Linked DNA regions of Homo sapiens: all the other regions are linked to region 3. Evidence: promoter capture Hi-C in 16 types of primary human blood cells and fetal thymus (Javierre and others, 2016). All regions are on one chromosome and are shown on one strand. The core of a region is centred on a gene start or on the middle of the fragment in contact, and the rest is flanking DNA. Distances in the headings are between cores, read along the strand shown.

Evidence for each region. The method cuts DNA at HindIII sites, captures the fragments that hold promoters and counts their contacts. A CHiCAGO score of 5 or more calls a contact.
Region 1: a contact is called between a fragment that was not itself captured here and the fragment with the promoter of TNS3 in region 3, in 7 of 17 cell types (total B cells, naive B cells, M1 macrophages and 4 more). The highest score is 34.4, in total B cells.
Region 2: a fragment that was not itself captured here is called in contact with the fragment with the promoter of TNS3 in region 3 in 6 of 17 cell types (total B cells, naive B cells, M0 macrophages and 3 more); the score reaches 32.9 in total B cells.

What each region holds. Positions count from the first base shown.
Region 1 is chr7:47,711,861-47,716,288 of GRCh38, reverse strand. No RefSeq gene overlaps it. Among named protein-coding and RNA genes, the nearest start is that of LINC00525, 47 kb to the left of the region's middle. RefSeq lists enhancers at 164-458, 1,011-1,090 and a silencer at 164-458. The HindIII fragment of the contact is 1,365 bases long and covers 761-2,125 here.
Region 2 is chr7:47,735,194-47,740,107 of GRCh38, reverse strand. No RefSeq gene overlaps it. Among named protein-coding and RNA genes, the nearest start is that of LINC00525, 24 kb to the left of the region's middle. RefSeq lists an enhancer at 65-719. The HindIII fragment of the contact is 4,204 bases long and covers 497-4,700 here.
Region 3 is chr7:47,579,088-47,583,487 of GRCh38, reverse strand. TNS3 (tensin 3) reads left to right here and starts at 1,377. Exons shown (of 31, transcript NM_022748.12): 1 at 1,377-1,437. RefSeq lists enhancers at 966-1,503, 1,504-2,041. The HindIII fragment of the contact is 9,706 bases long and covers 1-4,400 here.

The DNA of each region.
Region 1 (4,428 bases), core at 194-2,693, 130 kb before region 3:
GCACCATTGCACTCCAGCAAGAGAGAAACTCCATCTCAAAAAAATAAATAAATAAAAATTTAAAAATATATAAATAAATAGACCTTTAACAAGTTAAATGTAAATAATTTAGTCCAACTAAATTATTAATGGATAAAGATCCCATCAAAAAAGAGACGCTTTACTTTTTCCACACAGAGTAATGATTGGAATTCTCTCCCCTTTTTCGGGTTAGACATCTGAGACATGAAAATTAAAGGACAGGCCTAGATCCAGCTGGAGAGCCGGGCACCAAGTCAGAGCCCTTTGCACCAAGTCCAGGGTCCTTGTGTTTCATGCATGCAAGCCCTGCCTTCTTGTTTACAGATGGGAAGCCCAGCGAGTCCTTCTTTAGCAGGGGTGACAATGTTGTACATTAATCTGTAACACCAGGGACATTAGGCCCCCATGTATGATTGTTAGGCAGAGACAAAATAGGTGGGGTCTCCCTAACAGAGCATGCTGAGGAAAGGACTTAGGCATGGGATGAGAGGAGGTGCCAATGGTTTCTTAGTTGAACATATGATCAAGCACTTTCCAGAAGTATATGTTGACATGTAACCTGCCCTGCCCCACGCAGGGCCTTCATGGGTCAAAATGGCTACCCGCGGGTCACAACCAATGACCTCTGGTTACTTCACAATTGTCATGTGCCTACTTGGGTTGGGGTGGGGGTGTCGCACTGTGGTGGTCCACAAAAAATGAATGGAAAAGATTAGGCCTTTCTGTAGCAAAGGAAGCTTACTTTAAGTAAAGACTGAGATTGCATCTGCTGTGATCATATTGGATGTTGGTCTGCATGGCTGGAAGGAAAGAAACCTGAAAGAGAAACTATGCAAATGACAACCATCCAAGACCACAGCATCTCCCCCACAGTCAATCCTTGTGTTCAAAGGACAGTTGTGTTTTCAGCACCCAATGGAACTTCCTCAAATTGCCGAGAAAGTTTTGATGGTTATTGCTGCTGTTTTATGAGGATTTATTCAATATTTCCTACATGTGATACTTACTAATTATATATTCAATATCTCCTACAAACCATACTTACGAATTATTTCTAATTCTTGCAAGAACTCTAGAGTTTAGGTATTATTTCTCATTTTACAGTTGAGAGAACTGAGACTCAGAGAAGGCGTGCCAGTGTCACTGAGATTTTAGGAGATAGGACAGAAACAGAACCTGTCTATCAAAGCACAGATGTTTTCACCCTCCGTACTGTGGGTGCTTACCTCATATTTTGACTAAAATGTTTTATTTGGTTTATTTAGCTTCTGAAATTTGTATTCCTCACACCTGTCTTTATGTGCCTGGGGGGGAAATCTTAAGCATTGGAACCAACATCCCAGTGATCAGAGAGCAGAAAGAATTCATGGCTTCCTCCCCAGTGGCCCAGGTAGGGCTGACCCGGAACTCTGCTCAGAGCATGGATGTCTCAGTTGCTCTGTGTGCAGCTGCCTTGTGTGGAGTGAGCTGATCAGGAGGAATTTCTTCAGGGGAATATAAAACTCTTTGCAATCAGGATTTTCAGGGCTAGCTTCAGGCTCCTGACTTCTGAGTAACTAGGTCAAGGCTATTTCAAAATTAGCAGAATGGTACTCATCTTCACTATTGGTATCTAACACTGACCTAGAAATAGCAAGTGATTCAGTACGATAAGAAGATGAAAGAAAAATACTGGAAGTGAGGGGGTAAACTATTAGTTTATTACTTCCAGATAAACTAATTAAAATTATTACAAACTAATTATTTAAAACTAATTTAAAATATCTACACAAAATCTTAAGAGATGCTGGGCGCAGTGGCTCACGCCTGTAATCCCCGCATTTTGGGAGGCCTAGGCAGGTGGATCACGAGGTCAGGAGATTGAGACCATCCTGGCTAACACAGTAAAACCCTGTCTCTACTAAAAATACAAAAAAATTAGCCAAGCGTGGTGGCGGGCGCTTGTAGTCTCAGCTACTCGGGAGGCTGAGGCAGGAGCACGGCGTGAAACCGGGAGGTAGAGCTTGCAATGACCTGAGATCATGTCACTACACTCCAGCCTGGGCAACAGAGCGAGACTCCATCTCAAAAAAAAAAAAAAAAATCAAGAGAATCAAGTAAAGCTTAATTGATGAAATAAGAGAATTCAGAGTGTGGTCGGTTATAATATAAATATTTAGAAATCAAAAGCTTTTTCAATATTAGCAAGAGAATATCATTTTTAATAAGTATTCTACTCACAACAGCAAAAAAAATCTGAAATATCTAGGATTAAATTTAAGATTTACAGAAGGCTATAAAGAGAATAACTTGATGAATAGAGTGATATCATAATTCAGGATTCAAAGCTCAGTACCACAAAAGAGGCCAGGTAGTAAATATTTTTCAGCTTTAGGAGCCACATGGCCTCTGTTCCAGCTGCTCGATTCTGCTGTGATTGTGTGAAAACAAAACATAAACGAGCCACCAAACGTGGCTGTGTTTTAATAAAACTTTATTCACTAAAACAGCCGGAAGGCCAGTTTGGCCTGTGGGACATAGTTTGCCAACCCCTACTACAGGTGATTGTCTTCTTCCTCAAGCATAAAATACTACAAGGAGAATTATGCTGCTTCTAAAGTGTTCCCTCTTTTGAAATATTTCCTTAGGATAGACTCTTAGAATTTTGATTCCTGGCCAGGCGCGGTGCCTCACGCCTGTAATCTCAGCACTTTGGGAGGCCGAGGAGGGCGGATCACAAGGTCAGGAGATCGAGATCATCCTGGCTAACACGGTGAAACTCTGTCTCTACTAAAAATACAAAAAAAAAAAATTAGCCAAGCGTGGTAGCGGGTGCCTGTAGTCCCAGCTACTCAGGAGGCTGAGGCAGGAGAATGACATGAACCCAGGAGGCGGAGCTTGCAGTGAGCTGAGATCCCGCCACTGCACTCCAGCTTGGGTGACAGAGCGAGACTCCGTCTCAAAAAAAAAAAAAAGAATTTTGATTCCTGGGCCAGGGAAAATAAAATATAGTTTGGGACAGATATTGCCACATGCATTCTAAAATGCCTCCTACAAATTGCAGTGTGAGCAACTCATGAGGATAACTACTTCACACTACCACCAGTATTAGATGAGTTATTTTAAGATTGTTAAATTAATCTTTTTAAGTGTTTCAAATAGAACTTCTGTGATCGCTGTTGACGGGGAAATTTTTTCTTTCTTTTTGGATTTTTTGGAATTATCAGGTTACCTACTTTGTACCCGTACCCCTTGAAGTTGAAGTGGAAGCGTTTTTAAAATAAAACGTCCCATGGGCTATTGACAATATACGATGTATCATCTACTTTGGGGCTCCTAAACCTCAAATATTTTAGTTCTTGTGCATTTAAAGATGACCTTTTTATGTTTACTTTAAGGAATTTCCTTTGAAGGTTTTAATTTAGCCAAGATAGTTTGCAGTCAAGCTGCTATGAAGTGTAGGGACATAATTGAAGTCAGGGTTTCCCAAGCAATGTCTCCTGGCAATTTTCAAGGCACTTTATAGATATTTTAGAATACAGCTCTTTCCAGCCCTTCTCACATTCTTTCCTTAGTCCTCCATTTGGAAGGTCCTGCTCCCAGGAGAGGTCAACTTGAAGCGCCGAGAAGCAGCAGAGAGCGCGGGGGGCTGAGTATGCGCGCAGTGCTTGTCGCCTAATGCGTTTATGGCTTTTATGCTTATGAAGACAACTGTGATGCCTCAAGCTCAATTTTCAATGTAATTACCTGCATGTGATATTGACGTGAATCCCTAGGTGATAGGTTACAGATATTCCTATTTCATTTCTGACTTGTTGGTGTCAAATGAATGGACCCGTGAACGGGACTGTCATGGGAAAAAGTGACTCAAAGATAGTATTTAGCTGCCCCAAATAGCTCACTTAAAAAAAAAAAAACGCAAGCAGATTTTAAAATTTTAGGACTATTGCAGTGAAATCTTACCTGTTAAGAGCCCATGGAAAGATCACCTTCCTGAAGAGCTGATGGACTGCTGTTGTAAATGTCAGGTCGGGGTGGGGGTGGGGGTTGGGTTTTTTAACCCATTTAGATGGAAGCCCACACAAGTACACCAAGTCAAAGGCTCCTTCCTCAACGACTCTGCGCCAGTCATGATCATTGCTGAAATCTAACAAGAGCACAGCTTCTGCTGCATGTGGAATCCTCACAGAAACCTCTGAGGGAGATTGCTATTAGCATGCCCTTTTTACAGTGGGGGAAACCGAGGCACGGAAGATAGTACCAGTTACTTTCGTAAGAGGACTGCTTGGGCAATAGACCTTGCGAAGAGCCTCATTCACACCCACCATGCCGTGCAGCACCCCGCCGTCAGCCTGTGGGCTAGGATCACGGAAGGGGCTGTGAGGATGCGACAGGCTCTCACCTGCAGGGCCCAACCCTGACTCCACA
Region 2 (4,914 bases), core at 1,349-3,848, 160 kb before region 3:
ATAAACTGTCTGCTGAGTAACGCTTATGCCGCTTCCACATAGTAAGGCTTCCGTTCTTATGATCGTGTGCCCGGGACTTGGGCCACCTGCATTAAGTCCCAGAGGCACAGGGACCCTGTACCCACAGCTGCGGATGATTAACTGGGGGCGGGGGGCAGGGGCTGGACTTTTGAGTCCAGCTGTTTAGTTCCCTGTCAAGCCACAGATGAGATTTAGAAGTAAAATAAGTAAATAAAATTAATAAACATAAAAACGCAGCCCTCCTGGTTGATGTTCCCAGGAGCCACCATGTATCAAAGCCGCACAGCCAGTCTCCCAAAGTGACCATCCTCTCGTCCTCTCATTGCGCTAAGGAGCCGGTTCTTTTGTGTTGCATAAGAAAGCCATAGAGAAAATAAGGAGCCCTCCTGCTGAGGGAACACTGCAGAGAAAGAACTGGAGGCAGAGAAGCCCCAGCAACAAGGAAAAGATCCTCAAGGCTCAGGGCAGGCAAGCTTCAAGGGGAGGCCAGCGTGGGTCAGAGCGAGAGGCAAGGAGGACACCACATCAGGCCTGGGCCAGTCCACCCAGGCTGTGTTTAGTTCAGTGAAAGTCTCCATACCAGAGGGCTTCCCGTCCCCACTGTGGCCCAGGTCAGGACATCGGGAGAATGCCACTCTTCAGCCCTCAGCCTCCCTTGGGCATCACCTGGGGATACAGAGGCACCTGATGGGGCCTGTTCCCTGAAACTTTGAGGAATAAGAAGTGTGTTCCTCCCAAAAATACTGTGTATGCTCTGTGCCAGACATTTACCATGCTGGGGAACATCTGGGAACTGAAACTGACGAGAATCCCTGTCCTTGTGGGGCAACAGCCATCATCACAGGAGGTAAATGCTGCATCATCTTAGGAGGTGGGAATTGCTATGGAAAAATGAAAAATTAGAGGAAGGCAAAAGGGACCAGGAGTGTGGTGTGGGCTAGTGGAAAGCAAGTGTCAGCATCAAATAAGTTGCTCCAGAGAGGCCTCTGCAGATGGTGTCATTTGAGCAGAGACCTGAGGGGGCTGGGAGAGCAGACTAGGCTGGGGCTATGGGGCAATGTCTCAGGCCCACAGGATGACCTGCAAAGGCCCGAGGACCTGAGGTCAAAGGCCAGCCAAGGCCAGGCTGCTGGAGGCAAGGGCAAGTGAGAAGGGGCAGCAGGTGGGGGAGGGTCTGGTGGAGGGACTCAGGCTCTGTCCGTGTGGGCTCTGCAAAGAGCTCTCCGCTGCTTGTTGAAGGCAGAGGCAGAGACCCTGAGGAGGCTGTTGCCTCCTCACACTCAGGTGTGAATGTGGCTTGTGGCTTAGGCCCACAAGAAGGGTGGGGCAGTCCCCAGAAATGTCCAAGTCACTCACTACGGTCACACATCGTATAGCATACAAGTCAGATTCTATTTAGAAGTTTAACAACTCAGCCACTGATGTGATTATTGTTCAGTCTTTGGTTTGTGAGGCTCATGGAGCCGGTTTCTTGTTAAACACTTTACAAAAGGTGGAGCCACATACAGGAGCCATAAGACACCACAGAGGGGGAAACTCAGGGCACCTTTGATCCAACTGCTCATTTTACAGACAAGGAAAGTACGACTCTGGGAGATGGCATGGTTTCCTAAAGCCAGGCCGTGATTCTCGTGCTTGAATTTGCACAAATGCCACCTGGGGCTTTTGGTAAAATGAAGATTAGAATTCAGCAAGTCTGGCATGGACCTAAAGTTGTGGACTTTCTAACCAGCTCTCCAGAGATGCTAAGGCTGCTGGTCCGGGGACCACACTTTGAGCAGCCACAGTCTGGACTGGATGGGAGGCTGCAGTGAGAGCCTGGGGAAGTGTGGTTTAACATTTTGAATCAGGAAAGCTATGGGCTGTAGGATGCAGACACCAGTCTTGCTACACACCTGAAGATGAGGGTCTGAAACCAGGGAGGGCGAAGGCTGTGAAGCCCAAGTGAAAGATGGACCAGCCCCCACATAATTGAGGCAACTTGCAGCATATGTGAAACGCTAGGAACATCATCATGGGACCGGAGGACAGGTGTGGCCTAAAAGGTTCCTCACATGGTCTCAGACAGGGCAGGGGATGGGAGATACTCAACATCCATACCCTTAGCCTGTGGCTCAGGACCCGGAAATTGGAACAAGCTGGGCCACTGTGAACAGCTCAAGACTGAACATTAAAAAGGCTCCGCTGGTTCTGTGTTTCCCACGAGAGAAGGGCAACATGAGCTGAAGGCAGATGCCCTTGTGTCCCTGTTGCCACTGTCTGCCCTGCAACAATGAAAGAATGTCAGCTGTGCTTTTGGCAGACCCCAAAGCCCAGCCTGGAGCATTTAAGTTGCACAACGGTCCTGCTTTGTCAGATTGTGACTGAGGCAGAGGAATGGTTCCCTCCCTCTGGGCTTGTACAAAGAGGGAAAGGATGGAGGTGGGAGCTGAAGCCTCCCTCCAGGTCAGGACCTGAGCACTGGCTGCAGGGAAGTCTGTCCTGCTGCCAGCTGTTCAGACATGGAGGCCCCTCTGTGGGTCCCAGTTTGCTCCCCTCACTTGCTCCCCACATCCCTTCTCACAGTTGGCACCCCAGGCGGACAGCCCTTGGTCAGATGGGCCTTGTTGGGGACTAATTATTTTAAATGGCTAAAGTGAAGGAGTGAATGAGGAGTAAGGAGAAATTGAGGGGAATCCCCACAACATCTCTGCAATCTGCAGAATAATGACCCCCAAAGATGTCCATGTCCTGGGCCCTAGAACATGTGGGTACGGCACCTTACATGGCAAAGGGGACATTGTAGATGGGATTAAATTAAGGGTCTTGAAGTAGATTGTCCTGGATTGTGGGGCTGGGCCCAATGTCATCACAGGATCCTTATAAGAGGGAGGCTCAGAGTCAGAGTGGGAGATGTCACAATGGAAGCGGAGGTCAGAGAACAGAGGGAGAGGGATGTGAAGATGCCGTGCAGCTTGCTTTGAGGATGCGCGAAGGAGACACAACCCAAAGAATGTGGATGGCCTCTAGAAGCCGGACAATGCTGGGCAATGGATTCTTTTTTAGAGCCTCAGAAGGAGCACAGCCCTGGGGGCCTTTCTCATCTCCAGAACCCTAAGACAATGCAGTTGAGCCGTCTTAAGCTACTAAATTTGTGTTCCTTTGTTATAGCAACAATAGGAAACAAATAGAATGTCATGATTTTCTAGGATGAGGCCAAGATCATGAGGACTCAGCTATGGCGGGTAGGGGGCTTTGAAACTTGATGCTTCCCCAGTCCAGGGCATGTTCTCAGCAGCCCAGCAGCCAACTCGCTGATTCGTAGAGAGCCCTAATTCCTGCAGGCATTCATTTGTCTCGTTTAAGAGAAACGCATCTCTCTCTCCTGAACCCTATCAACCCTCAGAAAACAGTCTATTAGAAATATGAGACATCAGCCGGGCGCGGTAGCTCATTCCTGTAATCCCAGCACTCTGGGAGGCCAAAGCGGGTGGATCACAAGGTTAGGGGTTCAAGAACAGCCTGGCCGAGATGGTGAAACCCCATCTGTACTAAAAATACAAAAATTAGCCAGGCATGGTGGCGGGCACCTGTAATCCCAGCTACTCTGGAGGCTGAGGCAGAGAACCCAGGATGTGGAGGTTGCAGTGAGCCAGCTGAGATCACACCAGTGCACTCCAGCCTGGGCGACAGAGTGAGACTCCGTGAAAGAAAGGAAGGAAGGAAGGAAGGAAAAGAAAGAAAGAAAGCAGGGAGGGAGGGAAGGAGGGAGGGAAAGGGAGGGAGGGAGGGAGGGAAAGAAAGAAAGAAGGAAAGAAGGAAGGAAGGGAGGGAGGGAGGGAGGAAGGAAGGAAAGAAAGAAAGAAGGAGGGAGGGAGGGAAGAGAGGGAGGGAGGGAGGGTGGAAAGAAAGAGAGAGAGGGAGGGAGGGGAGAGAGAGAGGGAGGGAGGGAGGAAAGAGAGAGAAAAAGAAAGAAAGAAAGAAGGGAGGGAGGGAGGAAGGAAAAGAAAGAAAAGAAAGAAGAAAGAAAGAGAAAGAAAGAAAAAGAAAGAGAGAAAGAAAGGAAGAAAGAAAGAGAAAGAAAGAAAGAGACATCTTGGCAGTGGAAGGCAGTGGCCACGCCTTCCTGCTTGAAGTCTGGGCAACCCTCTGTGTCCATCCTGGAGAAAGGAGCCCTTGAGACCAGCATATTCTTAATGTGTTGCCTGCTCATGGTGAGAAGATATTCAGGAAAAAGAAGCTCACGCCTTTGTTTCCCCTCCACTCTTCACTCTCCCATCCAGAGAAGACACGCTCTGTAGGTTAGAGCGGGCAAGCATGGGATCCCACAGCGTAAGGATGAAAGTGCTCTGTTGGAATTAAGCACAGAGGAGTACACATTGTGGAAGCCACTAAATATAAGTGACACAAGTAACCAAGACTGCTGGCTGCCCTTCCTGTCTACTCTCCCTTTTCCCTTGGGAACAGAATTGCAGTTCTAAGTGGAAATACAGACCCGCATCCCATACACCCAGGTACTTGCATGCCACTCAGTCTGACAAATGACACATAAGTGGAGTTTGTTAGGCAAGATTTCTGCAATAGCTCCTTAAGAGATGGACAGAGCTCCAACCCAGGCCCCCTTAAACCTGTTCCCCCTCTTCCTGGAATCTCAATTTGAGAGCTGGATCTCCAGCAGCCACCTTGATTCATGAGAAGCTTGTAAGGGTGGGAGCCATCCGGAGGGGACAAGCAAAGCAGTGGGAGAGAAGAAACCCAGGTCCCAAGTGGCCCTCAAGTCTCCATAGCTTCTCTGGATGCCCTGCCTCCAGACTGATTTTATGAAAAAGAAGAAAAGAAGCTTTTATCTTGTTCCCCCCGCTCCACCGCCCCTGGTCTCTGTTAATAGCAGCCAATTGCAATTCTAACTGATGT
Region 3 (4,400 bases), core at 128-2,627:
CCTGCCTCATCTCTAGGGGCTGGGGCATGGTGCTCATGAAGCCTTTGCCTGGGAATAAATACCCAGATCAGTCTGGGGATGAGAAATGACACTACCTTCCAGAGCACAGCAGGGGTTGTTCAAGTCTTCCAGAAAAGCAGCTCTTGTTTCTCCTCATGTGGTGGGAGTGGAGTCAGAGCGTGGCTCAGGCCCCACATTCTCAGCTGTTTGGATCTGGGGACTCGAAGTTTCTGGTGGTTACTTCTGAAAGTCTTTTCCAGGATAATTATTCTTGCTCGGTTTCTCTGCCATCTCTGACAGGCTGTTTTCCCTGCTTCCCCCGCTGCCCTGAAGGGGCCAGAGGAACAGGGCAGGACCCCAGGGCTGCGGATGGGTTAGGCAGCTCTGTTCCCGAATCCAAAGCAGTTCTTGGTGACTGTCCTCCAAGACTTGCCCTGGACCCTGCTCCGGGTGGGATTCTGAGACCGCCTGCTCCACGTGGCAGATGAAATCTAGGTCTCTTCTGTGAGAGGCTGGCGGGGAGGATGTTTTCCTGGAAAGGACCACAGGACAAACCGCTGATGAAATTTCTCTTGTGACCTCCCTGGAGGAAGAGCACTTCTGATTTCTGCAAACTTTTTCCATTCCCCCGATCTCACAAATGGGGAAACTGAGGCTAAGCGACTGAGTTCAGGGCCATCTGAATCTCAGGGATGGACAGTCAGGATGGACAACCTATAGGCCTTTCCTCCTCTGAGAATCTCTCTGCTCGGGATCGTTTTTCTGGTTTCCCCTGGCTTGCCTAAATTCTGCTCATTTGTCCCGGCGCATTTTAAGAAGTCATGTGACTTCTAAAGACTTCCCTGACCTCCTCCCTTCATTAGCTGGGTATTTCAGGGGCTTCTACGGCACCCTAGGCTTTCCGGAGCGGCTGTGCTCCTTTATGTATGCGCGACTCCCACTAGGCTATGAGCTACAGGAGGGAGGGTAGGTCTTGCTCCCGGAGAGCACCTTAATCACAGGCGCTGAATGAAAGAATGAACTGGTTGTGCAGGAACCAGGATCCGAACCCGCCTCCCCAGGTACTCTAACACCGGCCCGGCGGAACCTGCAAGCCTCCAGACCACTTGGAGCCTGGGCTGCTCAATGGGTCTGATAATTCCAGGTCCTCTCTGCGGCCAGCGAAGGGAGGTCCCAGGGCGCACCTCGGCAGGGCGGGGGACCCCGGTGAAGGGCGCCTGGAGGCGCGCTGCATTGTTAGGGTGATGAGGCCAGGTGACCCGCCAGGCTCGGGGCGCGGGCGCGGGGGCCGGCCGTGGCGATTGCCCGCGCCGCCTCGAGGGGGCCCTGCCGCGGGCGCCGGCAGCCAGCCAGGAGGACGGGCCCGCCCGCGCGCTACTCGGAGCCCAGCCTCGTTGCGGCCATCGCCCTGCCGGACCGCGCCTCAGGCTCCCCCAGGTACTGGGGCCGGGGAAGGAGGAAACGCGGCCACGCGCCGCGGTCCTCTTTGTTTCGGGCCCGGCGCGGGCTTTCGCGCTCCGGGCGCAGGAACGAGGCTTGGGGAGCACAGAGATCTGGAGCTGGGGCGCGGGGACTGAGTTCGGGGAGCGCGGAGACAGAGTTCGGGGAGCGCGGGGTACGGGAGCTCAGGGCGCGGGGATGGGGTCACGGGAGAACCCAGGTTAGGGAGCGCGGGGACCCGGTTGGGGGCGCACGGGCAAGGGGTTTGGTGCGCGCGGGTACGGGGTTTGCGGCGCGTGGGGGGCGGGGGCTCGGCAGGAGTCCCAGGACAGGGGCTGGGGCGCGGGCCAGCTTCGCCGGAGTCCGGGGACGGGGGCGCTGACTGGCTGGGTTTGGGGACTGGCTGGGGCGCAGGACCACTCGAGTGGGACCCGTGGCGCCCGGGCGCCCTGGACTGAGGGCAGAGACCGGAGCAGCTATGTCGCAGTCGCTGTCGGGACCGAGCGGACTTTGCTCCCTAGGACTCCGTCTCGAGACTCCAGGTGGAGAGCGCAGCTAGGGGCTTCAATGGGCAGGCTCAAGACCCTTCTCCTACTTTTTCTAGGCAAGCTCTCCAGTGCGTCTCTTTCCCTTTCCCTTTGGTGGGTGGGAGGCAGGGGGTCTTTACGCGCTTCCTTTTTTTCCCTGAAGGACGGGACCTCGGGGTGGGGGGATATTCTGGGGTGGGGGGTGCTGTCCCAGGCTGGGGGCCAGCTGTGTGGCATGTGCCTCCTGGCACGCGGGAGCTGTCGCTGACAAGCAGGAGGAGGGAGGGTCCCGGACGGCCCAGGGGTCTCTGTGTCGGTGCTGTGCAGCGGCCTGACATGTGAGTCCCGGGTCCTTTGCTTGGAGTGATTTGAGTGTCTGTGGCGGGAAGAGATTCAGGCGTTCCTCAGGCATTCTCCAGACAGTGTCAGCAGATGACCCGAACTCCAGCGTGGTTGAAAAACTCAAAGCGCCATCAGGGTGTGGGGCCAGCAGAGAGCACTACTGAGGGTGGTCACAACCCCCTGGGAAGCCCCCAGGCTTCCTTGGGGCGCATTCACACACTTTGATCTTCCGGGTTGGCTTTCCCCCCATTTTTTTCACTATTTGAATGCATGATCATGGAGGACTCTGAAAATATACTGAAAAGTATGAATGCAGAACTCATTGTATTAATATTGCATGGCCCTTCTGAACTAACCAACCCTTTGACATTTTAGATTTTCTTGAGGCTTTGGTCTGTGCATATTAATTTTTTAAATTGCTTTCATGCTTTCCCTTTTGAATGAGGTTTACTTGTTCTGGTGATTCTGGTTCTTCTCTCTTTGGGGCCTGTGAGGTTATATTTGCAAATCAATCAACAAGTATTAAGAAAGGCTTTTCTGTGCTGAGGCCTTGAGGGCCAGGGAGGGGGTGGGGAGTCGCTGCAGCTGGAGGGTGGAGGGGCAAGGCCATTACACAGAGATGGAGGTGCACTGGGTCCTGGTGGGGGTGTGGTAGCACAGGGGGTGGGGGGTGTGTACACAGGGAATTGACAGGAGGAACTGGCAGCAAGCCCGACTCCTGACCTTAGGAATAGTAATGGTGACCCCGAAGACAAAGTAACAGGCATACCGATTGAGTGTTTGCCTGTGCTAAATGCTTTGCATGCATTCATTTCATTTCACCCAAATTACATTCCTTGGAGGGAGTTGGGATTATGATTACCCCATTTTACAGACGAGTAAACTGAGGCAAAGGAAGGCTAAGTAACTTGGCCGAGATGAAATGAAACATGGTGGTAGTGCAGCCTGGGATTCTGGGACAGGACTCTAGGGTCCCAGACCCCTGTTCCTGGCTGCTGCTGCGCGTCTGTCGACTGAATTCTAATGCATGTCCAGACAGCGATTCCTCAGCTGAGGCTGCCATAGCTATCAGCAGCTCAGCTGAATTATGTCTTTAAAAAACTACCAAGATAGAAAAACTAGTAGCCCCAGGGCACTACTTATTCCTGAATGCAAATTGATTTTTTTTTTTTTAACAAAGTGTCTCTTTGGCACCTAATGTTTTGAAAGTGAGCTGTTTGCAAATGTGACTCTGGAAATAAAGGGCAGGAGAGGGGGTGTCAAAGTATGCTCTTCCACTGCAGGAGGTGTTGCTGAAGGGGATAGCAGAGACCTGAGGAGGAGGCAGTATGGCAAGAACAGTGAGTGGAAGGGCTGACCTACCATTTGGCAGTCGCAGCTTATATCTGCTTAGGACTCTACACAAGGACCCATTTTACAGATGAGTAAAATACCAAGTAAATTCTTAAAGTCTGGGAACAGTTAGGGATCTGAATGAGCCCAGTTCTCTGACTCTATGTGCCCCATTCCTTTCTTAAGATCAGCCTGTTGTAAACCACCCCTGTTCAGGGGAAGCCTCTTGTTCCCTCCCTGTGTCCCTGTGTATGAACTTGAGAGGGGGAGGAACTTTCCACCTTCCTGAGGGCAGAAAGCATTGTTTAGATCCCTGCCACTTACTAGGAAGCCAGAGACATTTGCTGAGTGCCTCAGCAGCACGCTTAGAATTGAGGCTTCGAGGCTTCCTCACAGCGGCCCCCATAGATTTCCCAGGGAGGGGCCTCCTGTCTTGCGGGTTGATCTGGTGGGTTTGCCCCATGCAGCAGGAGCTATCATGGGAAGGGTGGGTCTGGGCGTCTGAAGCTCTCCAGGAGGTCAGCTGACCCTGGGACCCCGGGTCCTTCCTGTAGGACCCCAGAAATCACTGGGGAATCAGCTAACCCCTGCAAGCTGTGCCTGGAATGACCTAGAGCCAGTCCTGTCTACCTAGAATCCTCTGCTGCTATCCTTGTTGATCTAGAATGAGGGATGCTGGTTAGTTGGTTAATTAAGTAGGTGGTTGATTAACTTAGTTACTCTCTTCCTCACAGCAAGAGTATTAAAAACCATCACAAC